Regions from separate parts of the Homo sapiens genome. Here region 2 is linked to region 1. Evidence: promoter capture Hi-C in 16 types of primary human blood cells and fetal thymus (Javierre and others, 2016). All regions are on one chromosome and are shown on one strand. Each heading gives the region's core, a stretch centred on a gene start or on the middle of the fragment in contact. The rest is flanking DNA. Distances are from core to core; before and after follow the strand shown. Region 1 holds the start of TMEM14B (transmembrane protein 14B). Region 2 overlaps NUP153-AS1 (NUP153 antisense RNA 1).

Region 1 (3,133 bases), core at 222-2,721:
GAAGAGCTAAGCTATCTCCTAACAACGTTAATGCCAACTAGAAATATTCCCAAACACAAATCATTGATTGTTTTACTCTGGTACTAATTGAAATAGAGCAGAAACCAATTTCTTTAATTTATTTTATGACATGTTTTGATGGACTTTACCTACACAGAAGAGCTATGTGTTCTGGTTGAGGAACGACACTGCAAGAAGCAGCATATGGTAGAATTAAGGACGCAGGCTTTGACATTAGACCTTACTTTAAATAATAGCTCTACCAGTGACCAGGACTGTAGGTAATTTAATTCTCTGAGGTTCAGCCTCTTCAAGTATAAGGTGGGGAAGGGCTCGAGGATCATGGTGGATGATCCTAATTAAGGTTTGAGGCTTGCACCTGCATAGGGAAGAATGAGTCCCTAAAGCCATTCCCTGCTGGTTAAGACAAGTCTCATTAATTGTTCAGGAAAGTCTTCAATTAAATTGAAGGTCTGGCATACTGCAATTCCTGCAAGTTCTTAGTTATTATCAGCTCTGGCTGGTTAGAAGCAGCTATGATAAACACGGGCTTCAATTTAGCTATCTGGAAGGTAGGTGCTGCTGCAAGTGGAAAGTTTGTCTTTAAGAATATGCGCTGCAATTTGCTTTATTCACTGATGATTATATTGATCGGAGTTGTCTATGTTGATACTTGTAGGGGATGAAGGAGAGGGAGAAGTCAACGATGACAGCAAATTTTAGTGTAGAGCAACTGAGCGAATGGTGGTGCAGGAAACACAGAAGAGGAGCGGCTCGGAAGTGGGAATGGAGATAACATCATACTGTGGACATTCGGAATCCACAGAGCTGCGTGGAAATCAGATTTAACTTGCTCTCTCTCCCCATTTAAGATGCTTCTCAAGTAGCCTCACTCCCTAAAACAAACGGATATTTGGCATTGCGCCACATTATTCTGCAGCTGCCATATTTTCTTGCAGGTGGAAGGCAGGCCCTTCCTGGTGTAAACAAACAAGATCGGGCCAGAGTGACAATCCTCCCTGATGGCCCGCACCTGGTTTATACCCTCTATTAATGGGGTCCTTCAAAATCATCAGATGCCCTCCTCCCGCAGCGGTGGCCTCCACCTCTGGCCTGGCCCAGCTTACGTGGTCCAGCTTGTGCAAGATCCAATTCCAACTCCGGGTTTCCGGCTTTTGGCCACTCAGGATTGGACCTGGGACTGGAGCTGGTCGGCCCTGCAGGTGCTGGGCCTGGGGACTGAGGAAGCACAGAGATTCCCCGCCCGGTTCCCCGCCAACGGCGCTAGCCGCGATGCCCCGCCTCACTCCCCGCCCCCGGGATGCAGGGCGCGTGCTGGTAATCCGCGGCTCAAGCCCCGCCCCCACTGTCCCCATTCTCCGCTCACCTCTCTCCAAGGACACTGCGCACGCGCCACGACGTCCCGCCTTTCTCCCCGCCCTGCCGCGGCCCCGGGGCGCAGCGCGCACGCAATCGCGTTTCCGGAGAGACCTGGCTGCTGTGTCCCGCGGCTTGCGCTCCGTAGTGGACTCCGCGGGCCTTCGGCAGGTCGGTGCAGGTCTTTGGAGAGTATTGTTTTTATTTTCTGCCACTTTTAACTTTTAGGGATTATTTAGGAGTTTCACGGCCGTCTGCTTTTCGTCCCCCCGATTCAGCGGGCCTTTATGCCGTGTGGTCGGTGCTTTTCTCCTTGGGTATTTTCTGCTTGTCTTAAAAGAGGCTGTGGATGCTCGGAGCACCTGAGCTCCTGAGGCAAAGGCTTACCCTTGTAGCATAGTGTTGCCTCGTTTCCTGGTGGTTTTGTTGCTCCAGCTCTTTAAAAGCCTCCCTTACTCAGTGCCGCCTCGAGTTAAGAACTGTGGGCAAGATCCCAAGCCCGCTGCCCTTCCCCGTTTTATGGGAAATTAATTCTTTCTTTTTTTGGGGGGTGGGGAGGGGTTCTCGCTGTGTCGCCCAGCCTGGAGTGCAGTAGCCTGAATATGTCTTATTGCAGCCTCTGCCTCCTGGGCTCAAGCCATCCTCCCACCTCAGCCTCCCAAGTAGCTGGGATTACAGGTGCATGCCATCATGCCCGATTTGTGTGTGTGTGTGTGTGTTTTAATAGAATATGGGTTTCACCATGTTGACCAAGCTGTTCTCGAACTCCTAACCTCAGGTAATCCGCCTGCCTGGGCCTCCCAAAGTACTGGGATTACAGGCGTGAGCCACTTTGCCTGGCCTAATTCTTTAAACAGAATAAACGGCGTATGCATTGCTTTCCATCTTGTTAGGTTCACTGCATACAGAATACTTTTCTGTAAGAAAATAGGAGCTGTTTTTCCAAGGGTGCAATGTCACATGTGATTCTGACTTGAGTTTCCGTGTATTTTACCCTCCCCTTCTGCCCTCCTAACGAGAACTGTGAGTTGGATGCAGAAGTTTCTAAAAAAAAAAATTGAGTATTGAAATTGGCTGTTGCATCAGTGAAGAAAAGCAACATCCCTACCACCCCTCAAAAGAGACATTAAAGTAGTTGGATTAAGGGCACGGGAGTATTTGCTTTCCGATTTAGTGATAATGTGAGTGCTTAATGAAATGACTAACACATTCCCTGATTATAGAGCTGGTCAGTGGATCTTGCTGAGTTTCCTGTGGACCTATGTGAAATGATCGGCATCTGTTCAGGGTTTACTAGGTGCTAAGCACCTTTACATGTGACATCCATTGAATGCTCACAACACCCCCAGGAAATTGGTACCAGTGTTATCCTCATGGTACAGTGAAGGATACTGAGACTTAGGTTGCATAGCCTGCAGGTTGGACACACTTCTTTCTGACTGCTGGGGAGCTGTGCTTTTAACCACTGCTGATCCGGCTTGTTTTCCCCAGATGCAGGCCTGGGGTAGTCTCCTTTCTGGACTGAGAAGAGAAGAATGGAGAAGCCCCTCTTCCCATTGTGAGTAGACAGTAAATGGTTAGAGAGTAGCCAGGAGCTTCTGGAAACCAGAGTTCCTTTCCTCAGCTGAAAAGAACCCTAAGAGTAGACTGCCTGGGATGGCGTGCGGGATGGGAGGATCACTGGACCTGTGGGCCAGAAACTTGGGTTTGAGTCCCAGCTCTAGCTTTGCTTAGTTGTGTGACTCTCAGAAAGTCA
Region 2 (2,984 bases), core at 198-2,697, 7.0 Mb after region 1:
ACCTAGTTTTTTCAGCCAAATAAATGGCATATTGGGAGACACTGCAATTCATGAAAAGCTTGTTGCTACAATAGTCCTCCTCTGCCAAGAAACTTCTTTATTTTGTTCCCCATATAATATAGTAGAAAGTGGCCGAGCACAGTGGCTCACACCTGTAATCCCAGCACTCTGGGAGGCCAAGGCGGGTGGATCACTGGAGGTCAGGAGTTCGAGACCAGCCTGGCCAACATGGTGAAACCTGTCTCCACTTAAAAAAAAAAAAAAAAAAATTAGCTGGGCGTGGTGGTGCTCACCTGTAGTCCCAGCCACTCGGGAAGCTGAGGCAGGAGAATCGCTTGAACCATGGAGGTGGAGGTTGCAGTGAACTGAGATCATGCCACTGCACTCCAGCCTGGGCCACAGAGTGAGACTCCATATCAAAAAAATTAAAAAATTAAAACAACAAATATATATATATATGTATATATATATATGTAACCAGCTGCCAATTATAAATTAGCAAATAGGCTGCTGACCCATCTCTAATAGATAAGGAGTATCCACTAATTAAAAGTGAAATACAATTTAGTCTAAACCCAACCTAGATTGAAAAAGAGCCATCATACATTCTTCAGAAGGTACTAATACAATTCTGGCCAAAAGAATGTTTAAAGATGACAAGTACAAGAAGTTACGAAATTTTATGTAGTTATTCCACCTTACCAAAACAAAATGAGGTATCTGCTGTGATGTCTATTAAAACAAATTATCACACTCATGCACAGCATAACAATGTTTCAATCAACAATGGGCCCAATATACAATGGTGGTCCCATAAAGAGCTGAAAAATTCGTATTGCCTGGTGATACTGTCTTTGTCCTAAGGTCTTATTGCAACACATTACTCACGTGTTTGTGGTGATGCTGGTATAAACAAACCTACTGTGTTGCCATTTGTGTAAAAGTGGAGTATGTACAATTATGTACAGTACAGAATACTTCATAATGATAAGTGGCTGTTTCTGGTTTATGTATTTACTATACCTTTTTTTTTTTTTTAACAGGCACTCCTTGCCATTTCCTGTTGCTACCATACTTTATTATTTTAAAGTGTATTCCTGGTCAGGCATGTGGCTCACACCCATAATCTCAGCACTTTGGGAAGCCAAGGCAGGAGGATCACTTGAGGCCAGGAGATTGAAACCAGCCTGGGCAACATAACGAGACCCCTTCTCTACAAAGAAATGAAAAAATTAGTTGAGCTTAGTGGTGTGCACCTGTAGTCCCAGCTACTAGGGAGGCTGAGGCAGGAGGATCACTTGAGCCCAGGAGTCTAAGGCTGCAGCGAGCTATGATCTCACCACTGCAGTCCAGCCTAGGTAACAGAGTGAGACCCCATCTCTAAAGAAAAAAATAAAGAAAATGAAGCTATTGGGTTTATTTATTATTTATTTATTTATTTATTGCCTGTTTGCTTGTATTTTAGGGAAAGAAGGGCCACACAACGGAAAGATATTTAAGGATGTAAATCATTGTATTCTCATTAACTTACTGTGTTCTCTCTCTATTGGGAATAAAGTAATATTTAAGACTAAATTAACTAATATGAGCAAATTTTGATTAACTACATATATCACTTGATTCCAACATGCCATATATTTCCTCTTCCTGACTACATGTATCAATGTATACTAGACTTTGGTATATATGTGTTTATGTACATTACATTATAGTTTAAGGCATATTTTAAATTCAATCTTGAATGGAAACTCAGTTTTATTGGATGAAATAATAACCAAATTTAGGAAGGCAATCCCATCCTAACATTTAAGACAGTTAATGAATTAACTGAGATTAATTCATTAAAACACAAATATTTATTGAGATATTTATGTGTTGGTTTCTAGTCTTGGCATTTAGTATGTCAGTATACAAAACTGTAAAACAATCTCTGTCTACATATTATGCTACACTTTACCATTTTATTGAGTTATACTAAAGTTTACTATTTTATAATCTATTAATCATTAGCACTTAACACTGATAATTCACCTTAAAAATGCTACACTCAAGCCAGGCACAGTGGCTCACACCAGTAATCCAGCAGTTTGGGAGGCCAAGATGTGCGGATCACCCGAGGTCAGGAGTTTGAGACCAGCCTGGCCAACGTGGCAAAACCCCGTCTCTACTAAAAAAATTAAAAAATTAGCCGAGTGTGGTGGCACATGCCTGTAATCCCAGCTACTTGGGAGGCTGAGACAGAAGAATCGCTTGAACTTGGGAGGCAGAGGTTGCAGTGAGCCGAGATCATGCTACGGTACTGCAGCCTGGGCAACTGAGCCAGACTCTGTCTCAAAAAAAAAAAAAAAAACCTACACGTAAATTCTAAACACATGCTGTTGAATCTATCTCATACAAGAAATCAGGGGCGGGCACGGTGGCTCATGCCTGTAATCTCAGCACTTTGGGAGGCCAAGGCAGGCGGATCACGAGGTCAGGAGATCAAGACCATCCTGGCTAACATGGTGAAACCACCGTCTCTACTAAAAATACAAAAAAAAAAAATTAGCCGGGCGCGGTGGTGGGCGCCTGTAATCCCAGCTACTCGGGAGGCTGAGGCAGGAGAATGGCATGAACCTGGGAGGCGGAGCTTTCAGTGAGCGGAGATCATGCCACTGCACTCCAGCCTGGGCGACAGAGCGAGACTCCATCTCAAAAAAAAAGAAAAAAGAAAAAAAAGAAATCAATTGGTTTAGTTTTATTTATTAACATAATTCATCAGTTACATTACGAAACTGGACTTATTAAGGTTGCAGTCTGTAAAACTATAACCTTTGCAAACCTTAGTTTGCTAATACTAAGCTTCTTTATTTTTTAAAAGCATTTGTAGAGAATGCTCAAGTTTATCAGACCCTAACTTATTAAGGCATTCCTTTTCAAAAGCATGCAAACCAGTTAACATGCAAACAACCCTCACATACATATCACCCCACCACCATCAGACA

What was found. Contacts are between HindIII fragments. The CHiCAGO score rates a contact against its expected background, and 5 or more counts as called.
Region 2: a contact is called between a fragment that was not itself captured here and the fragment with the promoter of TMEM14B in region 1, in 1 of 17 cell types (non-activated CD4 T cells). The highest score is 5.1, in non-activated CD4 T cells.

What each region holds. Positions count from the first base shown.
Region 1 is chr6:10,746,334-10,749,466 of GRCh38, forward strand. It overlaps TMEM14B (transmembrane protein 14B), which reads left to right and starts at 1,472. Exons shown (of 6, transcript NM_030969.5): 1 at 1,472-1,548; 2 at 2,869-2,935. The coding sequence starts at 2,913. TMEM14B-DT (TMEM14B divergent transcript) reads right to left here and starts at 1,251. Exons shown (of 2, transcript NR_187231.1): 1 at 1,128-1,251. RefSeq lists an enhancer at 1,032-1,081 and silencers at 1,202-1,431, 1,266-1,486, 1,442-1,501. The HindIII fragment of the contact is 12,296 bases long and covers 1-3,133 here.
Region 2 is chr6:17,709,746-17,712,729 of GRCh38, forward strand. NUP153-AS1 (NUP153 antisense RNA 1) reads left to right here. Exons shown (of 3, transcript NR_134618.1): 3 at 1,044-1,282. Among named protein-coding and RNA genes, the nearest start is that of NUP153-AS1, 4.2 kb to the left of the region's middle. The HindIII fragment of the contact is 2,783 bases long and covers 57-2,839 here.